Regions from separate parts of the Homo sapiens genome. Here regions 2 and 3 are each linked to region 1. The links are contacts of gene promoters, found by promoter capture Hi-C in human tissues and cell types (Jung and others, 2019). All regions are on one chromosome and are shown on one strand. The core of a region is centred on a gene start or on the middle of the fragment in contact, and the rest is flanking DNA. Distances in the headings are between cores, read along the strand shown. Region 1 holds the start of TMC7 (transmembrane channel like 7). Region 2 overlaps SMG1 (SMG1 nonsense mediated mRNA decay associated PI3K related kinase). Region 3 has its middle 23 kb from the start of SYT17.

What was found. The method cuts DNA at HindIII sites, captures the fragments that hold promoters and counts their contacts. A contact is called where the count stands out against the background at its distance.
Region 2: a fragment that was not itself captured here is called in contact with the fragment with the promoter of TMC7 in region 1 in 1 of the 25 tissues and cell types used here (lymphoblastoid cells).
Region 3: a contact is called between a fragment that was not itself captured here and the fragment with the promoter of TMC7 in region 1, in 2 of the 25 tissues and cell types used here (neural progenitor cells and ovary).

Annotation. Positions count from the first base shown.
Region 1 is chr16:18,982,631-18,985,581 of GRCh38, reverse strand. It overlaps TMC7 (transmembrane channel like 7), which reads right to left and starts at 1,648. Exons shown (of 16, transcript NM_024847.4): 1 at 1,452-1,648. The coding sequence starts at 1,518. RefSeq lists a silencer at 1,678-1,737. The HindIII fragment of the contact is 36,131 bases long and covers 1-2,951 here.
Region 2 is chr16:18,832,887-18,836,187 of GRCh38, reverse strand. It overlaps SMG1 (SMG1 nonsense mediated mRNA decay associated PI3K related kinase), which reads left to right. Exons shown (of 63, transcript NM_015092.5): 48 at 1-255; 49 at 1,024-1,296; 50 at 1,750-1,984; 51 at 3,022-3,248. Among named protein-coding and RNA genes, the nearest start is that of ARL6IP1, 33 kb to the right of the region's middle. The HindIII fragment of the contact is 5,083 bases long and covers 1-3,301 here.
Region 3 is chr16:19,143,714-19,146,895 of GRCh38, reverse strand. No RefSeq gene overlaps it. Among named protein-coding and RNA genes, the nearest start is that of SYT17, 23 kb to the left of the region's middle. The HindIII fragment of the contact is 5,413 bases long and covers 1-3,182 here.

The DNA of each region.
Region 1 (2,951 bases), core at 399-2,898:
CACATTCTTTGTATGGGAAATGAGGAACTTGACATCTTCAATATAATGGATTCCACTAAAATAAGATGACTATTAATAGGAACCAACTAAAAAAATACTTGACTAGCTGTTATTGAAAGGCTGAAATTCAGCTGACATAAGCAGTATTAATATTGAGCTAGAAAATAATTCGCATTGAATCCACCCCAACTTTTGTTTTCTGATTTGGGTCTCTTCTAAATTTTTTTTTTCTTCTGGACATTGGGAACAATCCAATTTGAAGGCCTCAATGACCAAATCTACACTCATGTTTTATTCTATATCCTTGGTTTCTTTTTTTTTTTTTGAAACAGTCTTGGTCTGTCGCCCAGGCTGGAGTGCAGTGGCGCAATCTCGGCTCACTGCAACCTCCGCCTCCCGGGTTCAAGCTATTCTCTGCCTCAGCCTCCCAAGTAGCTGGGATTACAAGCACCCACCACCACTCCTGGCTAATTTTTGTATCTTCAGTAGAGATGGGGTTTCACCATCTTGGCCAGGCTGGTCTTGAACTCCTGACCTCGTGATCCACCCGCCTCAGCCTCCCAAAGTGCTGGGATTACAGGCGTGAGCCACCACGCCCGGCCCTACATCCTTGGTTTCAGTAAATCTCTATTCTAAAACTGAAAAAGAGAAAACATTGCAGATAAAACTTTACAGCAGGGTCTTGTGTTTTGTTCAGGACAAGATTCGTAAGCTCCAAATGCTACAAGGAACCCTGCCTGAGTGCTGGCAACTTTTTTATCCTGACTGGGCAGCCGTTGTACATATTTCTGTAGAAATTCATGGAGCTGTATACTTTACTGTAATTCTACCCGATACAAAAGATTATAATACTTGGCTGGCTACCATTTATTGTGACTGTCTAGCCACAATGCCAGGCACTGTGCTAGACACATCACACGATTCTCAGCTAATCCCCGCCCCATTCTATTCCCATTTTACTGCTGAAGGATCTGAGGCTCAGAGAAGGCAAGCCACTTACCAAAGGTCCCACAGCAATAAACAGACAAGGCAGAATTCGGTTTCAAGTTGGTCTAACTGTATGTGAAGGCTGAAATGTCCGGGAGGCAGGCACCTCATACCAGAATGTTAGGCGTGGAGGGGGTGCTCAAATCCTTTCATTTAACAGCAGATGAGGCTATTGAAAGACTGTCTCGGTCAACAGCTGGAAGACAAACCCACCACGGTCCAGACTGCAGTTCTCGTGTCCTTTTGGCCCGGCTGGGTTCCACTGGATTGGATGAGGACGCGTTTGTGGAGGGAGCAGGAATAAGGAAGATCTCCTTCCCACCTGCTGTTCCCCAGAGCCGGGAGCACCCGGCGTCGGGGGTGGGAGGGAACAGCGGCCAGGCCGAGCCTCCAGCACCCGGCTCCCTCCGTGCGCCCTCGGACCCCAGGGGCACCGTCCCCGCGCGCGCTCCCTGCCGCCCTACCTGGATGGACCGCCGGCTGCCGGCTGGGCCTGCCGGGCTGGAGCGCACTGCCGCTGGACTCGCTCATGGCCGCGCCCCGCGCTCCTCAGAGGCTGCCGAGGACCCTCTCCAGCCGCCGCCGCCGCCGCCGCCTCCCCGGCCTTCCCTCGCGGAGCCGGGATTCCAGGTTCCGGCGCTGACATCACAGAAGCCGGAGTGGGGCGCCCCCGCGAGGAGCCGAGCATCAGGGACCGCAGAGGGGCTGCAGAGCCCGGGAGATCCGGCAAGGCTCCATCCAGCGGTGGCGACAAGCAGCGACCTCCCTGATGTCTCACTGAGCTTAAAAAATAACAATAGATTGGGCGCACTGGGAGCCCAGTCTCCACCAGGACCCGGTACACCCATGTAACAAACATGCACATGGACCCCCTGCATCTAAAATCAAACCTGATCTAATAAAGAAATAAATAACAAAAATAACTGGTTGGGAGTGGTGGCTCACGTCTGTAATCCTCGCATTTTGGGAGTCCGAGGCTGGAGGACCGCACGAACTCACAAGTTTGAGACCAACCTGGCCAACACAGTGAGACCCCCATCTTTAAAATTAAAAAATAAAAAGTCCACACGCAAAAAACCCCAAGACTCCAAATCAGTGCATCTAGTAAGTTACCATTTGGGAACAAAAAGGAAACCAAAAAATATATTTGTACATGCTTGTAAATGCCTAAGCTATCTCCCTAGAGGGTGCAAAAAACTGGCTACCTGTGGTAGCTCTGGGTGGGGAGCTAGAGGGCCGAGTGAAGAGAAAACCACGTGCAGTGTTTGTCTTTTACGTTTTGCACTATATCCTCGTTTCATCTCTACCTCTGTTCGTGTGCAGGTTAAAAACATAAAATTGCCAGGCGCAGTGGCTCACACCTGTAATCTCACCACTTTGAGAGGCCGAGGCGGGAGGATCACCTGAGGTCAGGAGTTCGAGACTATCCTGGCCAACACGGTGAAACCCTGTCTCTACTAAAAATACAAAATTAGCCTGGCATGGTAGTGCATGCCTGTAGTCCCAGCTACCAGGGAGGCTGAGGCAGGAGAATCGCTGGAACCCAGGAGGCAGAGGTTGCAGTGAGCCGAGATCACGCCACTGCACTCCAGCCTGGGCGACAGAAGGAGACTCCATCTCAGAAAAAAAAAGAAAAAGAAAAGTAATTGCTAAATATAAATAAATGGGGAAAATGGAGAGAAATCTCCTGTGCAGATTTTGAAATCATTTACGTAGATACTTTAAGGATGGGGAGCTTAGCTCCCTACTCCTTAAGTGTGAGTTGCCCATAGCGACATCCTTCCAAAAGAGTGCAGTATGGAAGTGGTGGTGGAAGAGGGTGAGGGTGGGTTTTATATTAGATAATACCTGACAAACACTGTCTCAGACAGATGATCAAAGTTAACATCATCCGGGATCAGTGGCTCACACCTGTAATCCCAGCACTTTGGGAGGCCGAGGCAGGTGGATCACTTGAGGTCAGG
Region 2 (3,301 bases), core at 600-3,099, 150 kb after region 1:
AGCCTTTCTGCAGAATGCTGGTCAGGCCCACTTGATTAGCCAGTGCGAGCAGCTGGAGGGGGAGGTTGGTGCTCTCCTGCAGCAGAGGCGCTCCGTGCTCCGTGGCTGTCTGGAGCAACTGCATCACTATGCAACCGTGGCCCTGCAGTATCCGAAGGCCATATTTCAGAAACATCGAATTGAACAGTGGAAGACCTGGATGGAAGAGCTCATCTGTAACACCACAGTAGAGCGTTGTCAAGAGCTCTATAGGAAGTAAGTTGATAGTGCTTAATTTTCTTTTATTTTTGAGACGGAGTCTTGTTCTGTCACCCAGGCTGGAGTGTGGTGGCATGATCTTGGCTCACTGCAACCTCCGTCTCTGAGGTTCAAGCAATTCCTCTGCCTCAGCCTCCAGAGTAGCTGGGACTACAACACCACCAAGCCCGGCTAATTTTTGTCTTTTTAGTACAGACGGGGTTTCACTATATTGGCCAGGCTGGTCTTGAACTCCTGACCACGTGATCTGCCTGCCTGGGCCTCCCAAATTTCTGGGATTACAGGCGTGAGCCACTGCGCCTGGCCAATTGTATTTCTTATTGGGAGTGGAAGCAAAGTTGTATTCTGCAGCCTTGACCTCCCTGGGCTCAGGTGATCCTCCCACTTCAGCCTCCCAAGTAGCTGGGACCACGGGCGTGTGTCACCACGCCTGAACAATTTTTATATTTTTTTGTAGAGATGGAGTTTCGCCGTGTTGCCCAGGCTGGTCTCGAACTCCTGAGCTCAAGCGATCCTCCTGCCTTGGCCTCCCAAAGTGCTAGGATTACAGGTATGAGCCGTGGTGCCTGGCCTCAAATGTTGATTCTGTCACAGTCATCAACAAGTCCTTTTAGGAAATTGCTTAAGCTCTTGAGACATTTTTATCTGTAAAATGTAAATAATGATTTCTACTCTTCAAGTTTTGTTTGAGGATTAAATGCAATATTCTTTTGTATGTTGGGGGTGGTTGTGTTATAAACAAGCACCTCTTCCTTATTTTTATAGATATGAAATGCAATATGCTCCCCAGCCACCCCCAACAGTGTGTCAGTTCATCACTGCCACTGAAATGACCCTGCAGCGATACGCAGCAGACATCAACAGCAGACTTATTAGACAAGTGGAACGCTTGAAACAGGAAGCTGTCACTGTGCCAGTTTGTGAAGATCAGTTGAAAGAAATTGAACGTTGCATTAAAGTTTTCCTTCATGAGAATGGAGAAGAAGGATCTTTGAGTCTAGCAAGTGTTATTATTTCTGCCCTTTGTACCCTTACAAGGTAAGTTAGCCAACTTCATATTGGACCATTTCCTGTGTCTTATTTTTAATCCCAAACCTAAAATGTTCTTTTACTTTCCTTAGTCTTGCCAAGTGTTACAGCTGCTTACTTGCTTTTCAGATTTTAGTTATCTTGGTTGTGTTTTGAGACAGGGTCTCACTCTTGACACTGAGGCTGGAGTGCAGTGGCACGATCTCGGCTCACAGCAACCTCAGCCTCCTTAATAGCTGGGACTACAGGTGTGTGCCACCACACCTGGCTAATTTTTGTATTTTTTGGTAGAGATGGGGTTTTGCCATATTGATCAGGCTGGTCTCGAACTCCTGGCCTGAAGTCATCTACCTGCCTCGGCCTCCCAAAATGCTGGAATTACAGGCATGGCCTTGACCCGGCCAGTTACCTTGTTTTGTTTATACATTTAAGTTTCACTGTACAGATATTTATCTCTTGTAGGCGTAACCTGATGATGGAAGGTGCAGCGTCAAGTGCTGGAGAACAGCTGGTTGATCTGACTTCTCGGGATGGAGCCTGGTTCTTGGAGGAACTCTGCAGTATGAGCGGAAACGTCACCTGCTTGGTTCAGTTACTGAAGCAGTGCCACCTGGTGCCACAGGACTTAGATATCCCGAACCCCATGGAAGCGTCTGAGACAGTTCACTTAGCCAATGGAGTGTATACCTCACTTCAGGTGAACACTTTTATTTTAAATATTAGTTTGTTTTAGATACTGAATATTGTCTTTCTCATCTCTTTAACCCAGGAAAGCAATTTGACTTCCCCATTTGAATGTTGCTCAACCAGTCATTTAAAAGGAAGATAATTGTGAGATTTATAGCTATAACTTGGTTACAGTTGCTCTTTGTTTTTTTGAATTTTTATAGCAGCTTTATTTGTAATAGTCAAAAACTGGAATCAAGTCAAGTGTTCATCAAGCAAATGGACAAATATGGTACATCCACATAATGGAATACTTCTTAGCAATAAAAGTGAACGACACCTTGATAACATACAGCCACATGTATGACTTACAATAATTATGCTGAGTAAAGAAAGCTAGACATTTCTACCCCTATAAATGGAGAGTGTATAATATGAGAAAAAGCAGATCAGTGTTTACTTGGAGATGGAGGAGGTGGTATGGAGAAGTGTGAGTGAGAGAGATTAAGAAGTCAGGAGGAAATTTGTAGGGTAGTCGGTATGCTGATTTTCTTGATTGTGGTGACAGTTTCATGAGTGTATGCAAGTACCAAAGTATAACAAATTATATATTTTAAACATGCAGTTTATTATATGCAAATTATACCTTGATAAGACTTTTTTTTTTTGAAGGGAAATAGAAGCCACTTATAACCAAACCAAAAAGAGAATAACAATGCTAATATCACTACAGAAATATGATTCCTAAAAATTAATAACATTATATAACATACTTTAGGGCAGTTCTTTTTGTTCTTAAGGTACATCATCCTAGGAATGTTTAATTATATGACAACTTTTTAAAGTCATTTGAAATAGTTCCTGAAAAATTTCACATGACTATGAAATAGAATTTGAAAAGAAAATATTTAAAAGTAGAAATAAAAAGTAAACAAAAGATGTACTTACATGAATGAGTTGATGGCATAGTTACATAAGTTTGCTCTTAATGTATGGCTCTAAGTCTCCAAATGTGTAACTTAGCTAAACTCAAAAAACATTAAAAGTTTTTTTCTCATATATTTATAGGAATTGAATTCGAATTTCCGGCAAATCATATTTCCAGAAGCACTTCGATGTTTAATGAAAGGGGAATACACGTTAGAAAGTATGCTGCATGAACTGGACGGTCTTATTGAGCAGACCACCGATGGCGTTCCCCTGCAGACTCTAGTGGAATCTCTTCAGGCCTACTTAAGAAACGCAGCTATGGGACTGGAAGAAGAAACACATGCTCATTACATCGATGTTGCCAGGCAAGTGAATGCTGGCTGTGCCGTTTCCTTGTAAAAGAGATGGGACAGCCAGA
Region 3 (3,182 bases), core at 414-2,913, 160 kb before region 1:
CACCCATAGGCCACTACCCTGCAAGGGCAAGGACTGTCCTTTTCTTCACCACTGTTTTCTGAACATCTACTATAGAGGTTGGCATAATAACTACCTGGACCAGATAATGAATCGAGTTCTTCTTGTCCCACCCATTCACCCACTGGGGTTTCTGTAAACTAGCCCACTTCCTTTTCTCTTTATTTTTATTTTATTTTATTTTATTTTATTTTTTTGAGACGGAGTCTCGCTCTGTCATCCAGGCTGGAGTGCAGTGGTGCAATCTCGGCTCACTGCAGCCTCCGCCTCCCAGGTTCCAGCGATTCTCCTGCCTCAGTCTCCCAGGTAGCTGGGATTAGAGGCACACGCTACCACGCCCGGCTCATTTTTGTATTTTTGATAGAGACACGGTTTTACCCTGTTGGCCAGGCTGGTCTCAAACTCCTGACCTCAGGTGATCCGCCTGCCTCAGCCTCCCAAAGTGCTGGGGTTATAGGCATGAGCCACCGTGCCCGGCCATTCTCTTTTTCTTTAAATCCCGCCTGGGAAAAAGAAAAAGAGTACATTGTGCACAACCAATTTAAAAACACCTGCCTGTGTCTTCAACAATAGTCTGTTCCACTTTAAAAGTGCAAGGCCTGACAATGCCCTGGGGTTCCTAGTGCCTTAGATAAACTGTAGCCTTTGTAGAGCTAACCCCCCAAAGCTGTTAGAAGCCAGGGCCAGGATTCAGCTGTGCCAGTCTGATGTTTACTTTTCACCAAAGTATTGTCTGAATAGAACCCATTCTGCTGTTTTAGAAAGTATAAATCTTTGGGGGCTACTCAGGAAGGGTAGCTCTGAGGAGGAGACCCAAGAAGGGGCTTAGAGTTGAGACTCTAGTAGGGAGGAAGACTTGAAAGTGAGGACCTTTACTACACCATCAGAATAAGAAAATGCCAGGTGTCTATATTAAACATTGGCAGACTGATAGAAATTGGGGGATGGGGAATGTTAAACCTCCCAGTGCCGTCCCCATGGAGCCACCACTGGTATTCAGGTCTCAGGAAAGGAAACCACAAATCACCAGGAGGATGGGAATTTGGAGTTCAATGTTGGTCCCAACCAAGGTAGTAGAATTTTGTATCTTAGAACATCAGAGCTGGCTGTGACGTGCCAGAAATTGGGTGTTTCAGAAATATTTGTTTAAAGTTAAGTAGGGATTAGCTTGGGTTGTGATTTTGCTCATCTTTTTGATGTCATTGAGACCAGGGATCCAGCAATTCCTGAATCTTGTTGTCCATCTCCTAACACCCTCCTGTTCACTCCACCCCACTCCCAAAGTTCCTTAGGGAGCTATATGCAAGAAGCAGCAGCTACATTGGAATCAAAACACCTTTTTATTAATAGTTGAATCTGGACCTAATAGTCACCAATGTAGAGCTTCCTTTAAAAAGTTAGAATATCACTTGAGCTCAGGAGTTCGAGGCTGCAATGAGCTAGGCTCACACCACTGCATTCCAGCCTGGGCGACAAAGCGAGACCCTATCTCTTAAAAAAAAAAAAAAAAGAGTTAGATTAGAGCCCTTGGTTTAGGCTGTAATCTAAAACCCTTTTTCTAGTCCCACTCCACCTCCCAATTAATGAATATAAATCTTGGAGTCTTACCAAACTTAATACACAACCCAACCCAATGGCTCACATGTAAGGCAATGTGCAAGAGCTCAGGCAGGCCGTTAGATCAGAGCACTGCCCAGCCTGTAACAGGGGAAGAAGAGCAGAGCTGCAGCCTTTGCCACACAGTGACACTAGGGATGCATGGCCCAAGGAGTGTCTAGGACTCTGATGGAGCCAATTAGCACCTTCTCCTTGCAGAGAAGCTAAAAAGATAACAGGCAGAGAGTGGCCAGCTAGGCAATCTGAAGAGTCCTCTCTGCCTAAATAAATGAATAAAGAAATAACCTCTCAGGCACCATCGAACTCCTACACTTTACAGATGAGAAAACTGAGATCCCAGTGGGAAAGAGGCTAGCCCAGGGTCACACAACAGGACCATTGGCACAGGTAGAGGGAGAACCTGGGTTTCTGATTTCTGATTCAGAGCTTGGCAGATTGGACTCAATTGGACCCAGTTGGTAGCTCTTCCCTATTGTATTCAGCCTTCAGGACCTACACAACTCTGTAAAAGAATGAAACAAGCTTAAGTGTAATGGAATCTCCTGGAAATGACAGCAACACTCCCACTGGCCGAAACAGGATCACAGGACCATCCCTAGGTGCAAAGGAGTCTGGGAAAGCAGGGAATGGAATTGAGCAATTGATTGGCTTATCGACCAACCATCATCCATAGTCTAGAGCAAGCCCACTCCTAATTGGAACAAATTCAGAGTAGACAAAAAAGTAGGGGGAATGGGTCACTTGTAGGTCACATTTTCCAACCCAGTGATAAGATAATATTATGTTCATATTATAAAGAAAGAGCCTGATATTAGAGAGCTAAAGTGATTTGCCCAAGGTCACAGCTAATTAATGGTCAAATCACATTTCTGCCTGATTCCAGAGTCTGAGCTCTTAGCTACAATGGAATATTGACTTTCAGAAAGAGCACAAAAAATATGGAACTCTTCGAGTTTGAGAATCTTACTTTGCAAAGCTATGCTAATGTTCTCGAAATCATCTAATCAAATGATACTTGAAATTAGTATACATTTTTTCATTCAAAGCAACAAAAAATCATTTTTTAATCATAGCAATTTGAGAACATTCTTTCTTCACAATGGAAGCATATAGGACCATTAAGTTGTACAATCCCAGGAGGTGCCATTCATATAGCAGCCCGTATTCATAGCACCTTCTAGAGTTGTGCAGTGCCCAACCCACTCAGCCAGATATTAAATCGTGCAAAATTAAACATGTTTATCTGGTCCTTCATTTCCTCATCCACAAAGTGAGCTGGTTGTTCTAGAAAAATTCAGAGGTTCCTTTTGAGACTGAATAAGATACTGTGACAAACCATGTATATTCGCAAGGAGAATAATAAATAGGCAAGAATATAAAAGTGTCTTATGCCTTCCCAGGAAGGCTTGCTTTGCAAGGTGCAGAATAGAGATCGTTCTGAAATATTCCTCGTAATACAGCCTTTTCGGTTATAAAAACACCCTTGTTAACAATCCAGAACACTCAGGAGCTTAATTTCTTCAGAAACAAAGTACGTCCTTATAGTC